Regions from separate parts of the Homo sapiens genome. Here regions 2, 3 and 4 are each linked to region 1. The links are contacts of gene promoters, found by promoter capture Hi-C in blood cells and fetal thymus (Javierre and others, 2016). All regions are on one chromosome and are shown on one strand. Each heading gives the region's core, a stretch centred on a gene start or on the middle of the fragment in contact. The rest is flanking DNA. Distances are from core to core; before and after follow the strand shown. Region 1 holds the start of INE1 (inactivation escape 1). Region 2 has its middle 17 kb from the start of UXT. Region 3 overlaps LOC124905183 (a long non-coding RNA gene). Region 4 holds the start of SYN1 (synapsin I).

The links. Contacts are between HindIII fragments. The CHiCAGO score rates a contact against its expected background, and 5 or more counts as called.
Region 2: a fragment that was not itself captured here is called in contact with the fragment with the promoter of INE1 in region 1 in 1 of 17 cell types (activated CD4 T cells); the score reaches 5.2 in activated CD4 T cells.
Region 3: a fragment that was not itself captured here is called in contact with the fragment with the promoter of INE1 in region 1 in 13 of 17 cell types (naive CD4 T cells, fetal thymus, activated CD4 T cells and 10 more); the score reaches 8.7 in naive CD4 T cells.
Region 4: a contact is called between the fragment with the promoter of SYN1 here and the fragment with the promoter of INE1 in region 1, in 5 of 17 cell types (total CD4 T cells, non-activated CD4 T cells, naive CD8 T cells and 2 more). The highest score is 6.6, in total CD4 T cells.

What each region holds. Positions count from the first base shown.
Region 1 is chrX:47,203,398-47,206,097 of GRCh38, forward strand. It overlaps INE1 (inactivation escape 1), which reads left to right and starts at 1,451. Exons shown (of 1, transcript NR_024616.1): 1 at 1,451-2,464. UBA1 (ubiquitin like modifier activating enzyme 1) reads left to right here. Exons shown (of 26, transcript NM_003334.4): 14 at 144-299; 15 at 2,551-2,700. It overlaps LOC105373194 (a long non-coding RNA gene), which reads right to left. Exons shown (of 3, transcript XR_949047.4): 3 at 871-1,953. The HindIII fragment of the contact is 2,713 bases long and covers 1,395-2,700 here.
Region 2 is chrX:47,674,641-47,677,340 of GRCh38, forward strand. No RefSeq gene overlaps it. Among named protein-coding and RNA genes, the nearest start is that of UXT, 17 kb to the left of the region's middle. The HindIII fragment of the contact is 2,187 bases long and covers 166-2,352 here.
Region 3 is chrX:47,504,112-47,506,811 of GRCh38, forward strand. All of the region lies in intron 1 of LOC124905183 (a long non-coding RNA gene), which reads right to left. Among named protein-coding and RNA genes, the nearest start is that of ZNF41, 22 kb to the left of the region's middle. The HindIII fragment of the contact is 1,739 bases long and covers 394-2,132 here.
Region 4 is chrX:47,618,511-47,621,210 of GRCh38, forward strand. It overlaps SYN1 (synapsin I), which reads right to left and starts at 1,347. Exons shown (of 13, transcript NM_006950.3): 1 at 842-1,347. The coding sequence starts at 1,218. RefSeq lists silencers at 1,360-1,654, 1,361-1,570. The HindIII fragment of the contact is 11,977 bases long and covers 208-2,700 here.

The DNA.
Region 1 (2,700 bases), core at 201-2,700:
GTCATTTCTTAGAGTCCTGCAACCTGAAGATGTGGTGTTAGCCCCTCTCCCCGTCTCTCAGGGGAGTGAGGGGTGATGGGTAGCTTCACACTAACCTGCATCACCCTGACCAGCCTCTGCCTGTCTTCTTGGTTGCTTCTTAGGTGGGTGCGGGGGCCATTGGCTGTGAGCTGCTCAAGAACTTTGCCATGATTGGGCTGGGCTGCGGGGAGGGTGGAGAAATCATCGTTACAGACATGGACACCATTGAGAAGTCAAATCTGAATCGACAGTTTCTTTTCCGGCCCTGGGATGTCACGGTGAGTAGGGTAGGAGGTTGGGGCTTTGTCGTCTCACTTTCCTCCTTTTTCTTTTTTTTTTTTTTTTTGAGACGGAGTTTCGCTCTTGTTGCCCAGGCTGTAGTGCAGTGGCGTGATCTCTGGCCCACCACAACCTCTGCCTCCTGGGTTCAAGCGATTCTCCTGCCTCAGCCTCCTGAGTAGCTGGGACTACAGGCATGCGCCACCACGCCCGGCTGATTTTGCATTTTAAGTAGAGACAGGGTTTCTCCATGTTGGTCAGGCTGGTCTCGAATTCCCGACCTCAGGTGATCTGCCTGCTTCAGCCTCCCAAAGTGTTGGTATTACAGGCGTGAGCCACCACACCTCACCCCTCCTTTTTCTTGTTCCCATTCTTTCTGTCAGAGATCTTTCTGCCTCTGCCAGAAGCCCTTCTTTTTGGCCTTTCTTTCCCTCAGCTTCTGTTTTTTTTTTTTTTTTTTTTTTTTTTTTGCCTTAACCTCTTTTTAGTGCTGGTTGGGACAGTGTGTCTGGGGTCCTCAAAACTACTCTCAAGCTCAATTCACCTAGAGTACTTACAGGACTCAGCATATAGTCGTGCTTGTGGCTACAATTTATTACAGCAAAAGGATACAGACCAAAATCAGCAAAGGGAAAAGGCTGGTGCAAGTTTCTAGGAGTCTTCTCCCAGCGGGAGTTAAACAAGGCGGCCTTTATTTCCCCAGTAGCAACAGTAACTACAGAAATAACAGCAACAAGGTGTAACAAGACATGAAATGTTGCCAACCAGGGAAGCTTGTTAGACTCAGCACCACCTCTTTTACTTGGGGCTGGTCATGTAGGCGCCCCCTTCCTGGCACATAACAAAATTTCCAGACTCCCAGAAGGAAAGGTGTTCAGCGTAAACTGTATTGTTTGCATGAACGGTTTAGGCACAGTGAACCACTGATACCAGGTAGGGAGCGGTGGGAACCTTCCTGAATTCCAAGTTCCCAGACACCAGCCAAGGAGCCGACCTTGGAAGCAGGCCTTTCCAAGGGTTGTAGTTTCAGTCTCCTAGGCTTACACTTCTCTGCACATATGGAAACTGGGTTGGTTATGCAGGGTTCTCTGAGAAGCTTTCTGTAAGGAGCAGTGTCGTTTTTGCTTACCCAGGATTTATTCCCCCTTTCATTTATTTCATTTATTCACCAGATAGTTTTAGTACTGTTTTAGGTATTGGGGATATACCAAGGAATAAAACAAGATTCCTGGAGGGAGAGGGGAACGGACAGCAAACAATAGACACAATACGATCGTGAGGTATATAGTTAATGTTGGTGATGAGTGCTCCTCAAAGGAAACAACTAAAACCAGACAAGGGAAGTCGGGGTGTCAGGGAGAATGGTTTGTAGTATTGATGACAATGGTTAAGGAAGGCCTGAGTTCTGCAAAGACCTCAAGGATATGAGGGACTAGAGTGCCCTCTGCTGTGGAAGAGCCTGCGCAAAGATCCTGAGGTGGGAGGGGTCAGGGAGCCAACTCATTTTACGGTAAGTGGAGGTGGGATCCAGGGGAGGATTCTGAGCAGAGGAGGGACGTGGCCCAATTTGGGCTTTGAAAGGATCCTGCTTGTCTGTGTGCCAGCATCCTGGTGGTGGTTGGGGGAGTCTGCATCAATCCTGGGTGCTGTTACCTGAAAAAATAGCAGGTGTTAGACGAAAGAACAGATGTCTGGCCCATTGTCTCCAGTCTGTTCCTGTCCACAGCTTCCCTTTATGCTGAGCCCCTGCCACATGCATCATCATCCTGGCCATGTGGCATTGTCACAGACCGTCTCTCCTGCTAGCCTCCTAACTCAGGGCCTGGGTCTTCCCCAGCATTAAGTAAATCAGTCTCAGGCAGACAGCCCTTTATAGGTGTTTGGGCCAGGTGCGGTGGCTCACGCCTGTAATCCCAGCTCTTTGTGGGGCCGAGGTCTTTGAGCTCAGGAGTTCAAGACCAGCCTGGGCAGCATGACAAAACCCTGTCTCTACCAAAAATACAAAAATTAGCCACGCATGGTGGCACACACCTGTGGTCCCAGCTACTCGGGAGGCTGAGGTGGGAGGATCGCTGGAGCCTGGGAAGTTGAGGCTGCAGTGAGCCGTGATCATGCCACTGCATTCCAGCCTGTGTGATGGAGAGAGACCCTGTCTCAAAAAAAATAAAGATGTTTGTTGGGTGAATGCACAAATAAGTGAGCTTTGTTCCCCCATCCCCACCCTGGAACTGCACTTTCTTAACCCTTTAGAAGTTAAAGTCTGACACGGCTGCTGCAGCTGTGCGCCAAATGAATCCACATATCCGGGTGACAAGCCACCAGAACCGTGTGGGTCCTGACACGGAGCGCATCTATGATGACGATTTTTTCCAAAACCTAGATGGCGTGGCCAATGCCCTG
Region 2 (2,700 bases), core at 9-2,508, 470 kb after region 1:
GGTGATTCAAGACTGTCTTTCCTACCTTCTTTAGTGCCTCTTTCCTTAAAATAATATTAAAACCAAGTACTGTGACTGCTTACCTGCTTTTTGGTTCTTATGAAGGTGGTTTTCTGTGTGTGTAGTTGTTCAATTTGGTGTTCCTGTCGGGGGACAATCAGTGGAAGCTTCTATTTGGCCATCTTGCTCTGCTTCCAAGCCTCAGTAGTTTTTCTTGAATAACCACTTCCCAATTTGTTATATTACCTTGGTAAATTTCCAGAGTCTTTAACTGGTTGTTTTTGGCAATTTTGTCCACTTTTGTCATGGCGTTTTGTGGAGAGGATTGCCAAGCTCCTTAGTCAACCTTTCCAGATGTCTCTCCCTTCCTTGTAACTAGAGTTTTGATTGCATCACTTAAAAAGTGTTAGTATGTTTCACAAAAATGTGTACCAGTATGAATTAGCAGTATATTTATTTATTTATTTGTTTGTTTATTTTTTAAGACGGAGTCTTGCTCTGTTGCTCAGGCTGGAGTGCAGTGGCGCAATCTCGGCTTACTGCAACCTCCGCCTCCCTGGTTCAAGCCATTCTCCTGCCTCAGCCTCCCAAGTAGCTAGGATTACAGGCATGCACCACCACGCCTGGGCAATTTTTGTATTTTTAGTAGAGATGGGGTTTTGCCATATTGGCCAGGCTGGTTTCAAACTCCTGACCTCAGGTGATCCGCCCGCTTCAGCCTCCCAAAGTGCTGGGATTACAGGCGTGAGCCACTGCTCCCAGCCTTTGCCCATTTTTTAGTTGGGTTATTTATTTATTTTGTTTTAGCAAAGTGTAAGGGTTCTTTATGTGTACTTTTTGTGCCATATCTGAGAAACCATTAAGGGGCAGGATTTGAATACATATCTGGCTCCAGCATTCATGTTCTTAACCATTACACCACGCTGCCTGTCTTGAATTAGCAGTTTAGATATAAATGATTTATGTATGTCGTGACTTAGACTCTTGATTTATTCCAAACATGCTTAGTCACCATGCAGTATCTGTATTTTCACATGTGTATTTGTATATATGTGATGATTGTGACACATAAGAATGGTTATTGCATTATTCCCAACAATAGAAGATAATGGTTTGAAGCAGCAATAAGTGAGTACTATTATTGCTCTCCCTATTAATGGTGCCCTTATTTCAGTGATGACGTTCTCTGTCTTTTTTGCCTATCACTTTTGTTTAATATTCTTTCCTCACTTCTAGAAAAAAATGTGTTTCTTCTTTAATATCTGATATGGTTAATGACAGAGCAGGAGCACCGTCATCTTGGACAAACACCGCCACTCTAAGTTCAAGCTCCCTTTCTAGCCTCATGCATTTCAAGGAAATCACTTCTTTTCTAACTACAAGCAGCCAGAAAAGAGCAGACAGTAAAACACAGATAAGACAGCTCAGGCACAGAGGGAGGCGGGGGGGAAGTCTCCTGGGTAACTGCCGAACTTCACCCTCATACAATGGACCCCAGTGAAACAGTGGGCCTTACTAAGCACATTCCTTTCCCTTCAGGTGCACTAAGATAGGGAAGCTAAAAGTAGACTGGGGGGGTATGCCTGCAGCTGCAGGAAGATGTATGGGAACAGACACAAAACTCTCCCTCCCAGATAAGCAAAATGAAGAGACACAGAAGCAGTCCAAGCCTCTGATAAACTCTCCCACCCTAAATCTTTAAAAACTCTTAGTCTGTAAGAGAGTGGGCTCTGATCTAACTTGGCCAGAATCCCCTGTCAGGTTTGTTTTCTCTAAAATAAACCTGTCCTTGACTGTTGAGCCACCTTTCATGTTTCTTTCCTCTTTCTTTAATTCTTAGAATTAGGCTTTGTGTTCCCCACCCAAATCTTATCTTGAATTGTAATCCCCATAATCCCCACGTGTCAAGGGAGAGACCAGGTGGAGGTAATTGAATTGAATCATGGAGGCAGTTTCCTCCATGCTGTTTTCATGATAGTGAGTGAGTTCTCACGAGATCTGATGGTTTTATAAGGGGATCTTCCCCTTTCACTTGGCACTTCTCCTTCCTGCCGCCTCGTGAAGACAGTGCCTTGCTTCCCCTTTGCCTTCTGCCATAATTGCAAGTTTTCTGAGGCCTTCCCAGCCATGCTGAGCTGTGAGTTATTTAAACCTCTTTCCTTTATAAATCACCCAGTCTCAGGCAGTTCTTTATAGCAGCGTGAAAATGGACTAATACAATATCCCTCATAGCAGATGAAATATTGCATCCTTACCATGGACATCTGTGGTTAATCCATTGGTGTAACTTGACAAACATAGTCAGATGGTGTTTAAAATATATTCACACTTACATAAATAGACATCACTTTAAGCTTACTGCACTACTTATTTCTTAGTTACCTTACATTACGTAACAGGAATAATTTTTTTGTTTTATTTTTCTATAACCAACTGAAAGAATAAGTCATATCCCATTCTAGTATGTTCTGAAATTTTTTAAGGCTTTAATGTTAAAAGTTGTCATTCCTTTTCTTTTCTTTTCTCGTTTTTAGAGACAGGGTCTCCCTCTGTTGCCCAGGCTAGAGTGCAGTGGTGCTATCTCCGCTTACTGCAGCCTTGACCTCCTGGGATCAAGCAATCCTCCCACCTCAGCCTCCCAAGTAGCTTGGGCCATAGGCACATACCACCACACTCAGCTAATTTTTAAAAAATAGTTAT
Region 3 (2,700 bases), core at 13-2,512, 300 kb after region 1:
AACACCCACACAGACACACCCAGGATTAATATTTTGTATCCCTCAATCCAATCAAGTTGACAACTCAGTATTAACCATCACAGGGGGTCTCACTATGTTGGCCAGGCTGCCCTCCAACCCCTGGGTTCAAGCAATCCTGCTGCCTTGGCCTCCCAGAGTGCTGGGATTACAGGTGTGAGCCACTGTGCCCCACCTGGAATTTGTTTTAACTGGCTAAATCCAGGACCCCTGGAGGGTATAAGTGAGGTTAAATCTGCAGGGTGGTCTCACCTGGCTGCATGGGGTCCTACTGATAATTTTGCTGTGAAGATGCCAGGACCAAGGGGTGGACTAAGCAGAAGGGGGTTAACATAGCAGTCCTGTAACTATTGTCCTTTGAAAGTCCTGCTTACAAGCTTGGCCCTTGGCTGGCAATTAGGAACTTGGATTTCGGGAGTATTCCCAGAATTCCTTAACTGATAAGGATGGCTTACTCTTCCCAACCTGTTTGTGCAAACAGTGGTTTCTGCTGATCACCGGCTTTCATTCTGGGAGCCTGGAATTTTGGTAAGCACTAGGTAGAGGGTGCCTAGTGACCAGCCCCCAGTGAAACCTTTGGGCACCAAACCTCTAATGGGCTTCCCTGGGGAGAAGCATTATACATGTGTTCCTGGATTTTTGTTGCTAGAAGGACAGCTCTGTGCAAGCCTCCTGCGAGGGGGAGACAGCATGAGGAGGCCTGTGTACAGCATCCTTCACATTCTGCCTGTGTCTTTTTACCTTGACGATTCTGTCACATATCCTTTTGCTGTCATAAACCTTAGCTGTGAGGACAATTATATGCTATGCTCAGTGCTATGAGTTCTTCCAGCAAGTCACTGAACATGGGGGGTGGCCCTGGGACCCCCCAACAGAATGGGATAAATTAATAATTATGAGATATTCCAATTCTATCATCCCTGCGTCTATGAGAACCTGTAATTTTGTTGTGAGAGAAATGGAATGCAGGCCGGGTGTGGTGGCTCATGCCTATAATCCCTGTACTTTGGGAGGCTGAGGCGGGTGGATCACCTGAGGTCAGGAGTTTGAGACCAGCCTGGCCAACATGATGAAACCCCGTCTCAACTAAAAATACAAAAAATTAGTCAGGCATGGTGGCGGCTGCCTGTAATCCCAGCTACTCGGGAGGCTGAGGCAGGAGAATCGCTTGAGCCCGGGAGGCGGAGGTTACAGTTAGCTGAGATCACGCCACTGCACTCCAGCCTGAGTGACAGAGCGAGACTCCGTCTCAAAAAAAAAAAAAAAAAAAAAAAGAAATGGAATACAGATACAATATAAAAGAGAGCTTAAGGAAAAAAAAAACCTATATTCCTGAATTTGAGTTGGACATATCAATATGATCTCACAACAGTTTATTTTTAAAAAGAATGTGCACACACACACACACACACACACACACACACACACTTCATAGCTCTGTCTGCTGAAGAGGCCTACAAACAACGACCAACACAGCAGTAATGAGCAACCCTGGCACCCAAATTGTGGCCTTGACATTCCATTTCCCATGAAAAGGAATCAGTACCAGATCTGGTACTGGAAATGTACAAGATAATCCTGGAATCTTGTCATAAGAGCCGATAGTGAGAAAGCTGTTAATATCTATTAGGGTCAAGTCAAAAGGGTGTGGGAGCCAACTCCAGGAGTCTCTCACGGGCCGCAGATGAGATAATTTGAGCTTCAAGAAGTTAATAAATGCAATTTGACTGAAACCTGCCTAATATGCTTAAATTCATGAGTTCACAATGATCTTTTTAAAAATAGTTACCTTTGGGGAATGATAGGGAACCAAATCATTTTCTTGAAAACTGATAAAGGGACAAAGAATAAAGCATTTATGTTGCCTTTCCTAAATAAACTGTAGTATCAGTAACCAAATGATAAATGAACAAAAGCATCTCTATAAAAGTGTTGCAATTAATAAATGAAAAAGAATTGTTGGTTGGAATTTGTATATCACCATTTTGCAACCACCAATCAATTTCATGGATCTTCTAGGCATTGAAGCATCTCAGCTGCTAACATCACAAGAGTGACAACCAGACATTCTGTGCCCCCTGATGAGAGCACATGTAGTCTTGCTAAAGGAATTAAGCTTGAACCAGATCTGGCCCCTGCATTGACCTGCCAATTTGCAGGAAACATGGAGTACAGAGAAATATATTGCCATGCACATGCAATCACCCAAATCCAGGCTGTGAAAAATCCAGATTTGAGTGAGGACCTTGAAAGTAAAAGAGACTTAAAAAACAAATCATTTTTTTTTCATGAGCAAGACTAACATGTAATGTTTGAGGATGTACACTTGGGTGATATAAAGAAATGCAAGGAAGTAATTACTATAAAGTCAAGGTCAAGGTTGGTGAGTTGAAATTGGATGGGGCTTCTGGGTTGGCTGGCAGAGTTCTTTCTTGAATTTGGTGGTTGTTACTAAGGTGTTTGCCTTGTAAGAACCAGTTAAGCTACACTTTGGTGTTACACGGCTTTATGTAGCTATATTTTATTTTACTTTAATAAAAATAAAGTCCTGAGCTATTACTGTTTTTTTCCTTATGGTAGAAAATATTTATTTCAAATGCCCAGTCATGGCTAGGCGCAGTGGCTCACGCCTGTAATCCCAGCACTTTGGGAGGCCGAGGCGGGAGGATCATTTGAGGTCAG
Region 4 (2,700 bases), core at 97-2,596, 420 kb after region 1:
GAGTCACACAAAGAAGGTTCAAAACTGCTCATGGAACTCACTGGAGGAAAATGATTTGTTTGAGAAGGGGTTTGGGGGTGCGGCACGTATCAGGCACTTAACAAATGCTTCCTAGATCCTTTGGAGAAAAGGCCCTCAGAGAGAGGGCTTGGAGTTGGGGCACAGAGAAGGCATCCAATCAAAACTCACAGGATCCATGAAAGGCAAAGCTTTTGGAGAGAAGCTGGGGTGGGATACACAGCAGGTACTCAATGTTTACTAAATAGTTTAAAAGGGCTTTAAGGACGGAGCTGGGGTGGGACACATAGCATAGACTGGACACATGCTCACAAGACCCATTAGAGAAGGCCTCAGGGCAAGGGTTGAGGAGAACAGGACAGTATCAGGCTCTCAAAGAATGCTCACAAACCTCATTGAAATCAAAGGCCTTGGGGAAGGGCTCTTGGATGAGGCATACTGCAGGTACTAGATAAGTGCTCACAAGATCCATTAGAGGACAAGGCCTATGGGGCAAGGGTTGGGGAGGGTAGGAAGGACACGTTCGGTTTTCGAAGGCTCATAGGATATATTGAAGCCAAAGACTTTTGGGGGAGGGGTAGTAGGGAACAGGTACGCAGCAGGTGCCTGATAATTGCTCCCTGGATCCATCAAGGTTTAAGGGGCGGAGGGGGGCGACAAGGGCGGGGCACAGAGGAAGCATCCAGCTTAATAATTTAAAGGAAAAAGATTTAGGTGAGAGGGCCAGGTGTCAGGCACACAAGCGGCGCTCGATAATTGCTCATTCGCAGAAGAACGATCTGGGGACCCAGGCCCACGGGAGACGTCCGCGGCAGTGGCTTACCAGTCGGTGTGCGGCTCGTCGATGACCAGCAGCACCCTGGAGGCGGCTCCCCCGCGGCCTGCGCCCCCAGAGCCGCCGCCCACCTGCTCGCTGAAGGTGGCAGCTGCCGCCGCCGTGGTCTGCTTGACCGCGTTGGACAGCGACGAGAAGAAGCCACCGCCCCCCGAGGACCCGGGGCTAGGGGCGGCCGGAGAGGCCGCTGGGGCGACCCCGGAGGACCTCTCGGCAGTGGCGGTCCCGGGACCGGGCGTGGCTCCGGGGCTGTGGGCACCGGGCGGCGGTGGGGGCGGCTGCGGACGCTGCAGGTCTGTCATGTACCCATTTGGCAGATTGGCCATAAAGTTGCTGTCCGACAGGCGGCGCCGCAGGTAGTTCATGGCTGCGACTTGGGGCAGGGGGTCCTAGGGGTGGTCTGGCCAGGAGCCGCGGGGGCGGACTGCGCGGTGCCCAGGAGCACAGCTGCGCTCTCAGGCACGACACGACTCCTCCGCTGCCCACCGCAGACTGAGGCAGCGCTGAGTCGCCGGCGCCGCAGCGCAGATGGTCGCGCCCGTGCCCCCCTATCTCGCGCCTCGCGTGGTGCGGTCCGGCTGGGCCGGCGGCGGCGCGGACGCGACCAAGGTGGCCGGGAAGGGGAGTTTGCGGGGGACCGGCGAGTGACGTCAGCGCGCCTTCAGTGCTGAGGCGGCGGTGGCGCGCGCCGCCAGGCGGGGGCGAAGGCACTGTCCGCGGTGCTGAAGCTGGCAGTGCGCACGCGCCTCGCCGCATCCTGTTTCCCCTCCCCCTCTCTGATAGGGGATGCGCAATTTGGGGAATGGGGGTTGGGTGCTTGTCCAGTGGGTCGGGGTCGGTCGTCAGGTAGGCACCCCCACCCCGCCTCATCCTGGTCCTAAAACCCACTTGCACTCATACGCAGGGCCCTCTGCAGATACTCGGTTTGTAGTGTTGATATTCAACTCAGAAGGCATTTTTTGGGGGGAGGGGGGCACTGGAAGCACACTCAGAGACACGAAAGTAGAGAAATAACCCCCTCACAGAGGGGGGTGAGGTCACACGCAGTGCCCGCGGGGAGATTAGTCTCCCACATCCACACAGGCTCAGCTAGGCAGAGAGCGGGGGCGTCACAGACAGCATCAGACAAGCGGAGGTGGACACTTGGGTGGTGTACACACCCTTGCCCAAGGTGGCAAGGGGGGCCTGGAGGCACACAAGAAATGACACACATATAAACACACACAAAAGTGAGGAAACATACGAGGGCATGTACAGACAGAACACACGCCAATCTAGGTATACATACAGACATACAAGTCCAGAGTAACACACATGGGCATGTTACATACATGCATGCATACACCCATACCCCCACACACACAGGTAACACACTGACACACAGAGACCCAGGGAAACTCATATGAGCATACACTTGCAGACAAAACACATTCCCACCGATGATCATGGAGAAACCTAGATCTGCAACACAGACATTCTCTGCAGCCCTAGCCCTGGTGCGTGTCCACCCCCACACCAGAACACACTTGGTATATACGCCACCATCCCTTTGCTCTGGACACCGCCAAAACTCACGATAACTACCTGATGTCATCAGTGCCCATGGCTGTCTCCCCCTGCACCCAAGAACTTTCCACAGAGGCAGGCCCATCCCATGGTGCACACACAGTAGGTACCAAATAATGTTTGCATATGAGCAAATGAGGTAGTCCAAGCAGAGGTGGGATATGGGAACCTGTCAAATCTTTATGATTCTGACTACAATAAAAGCACTAATTCATAATCATTTGTTCACTGATTGTACCCAACTCTTAACTAAGCTGTTTACATGCATCATTTCATCCAAC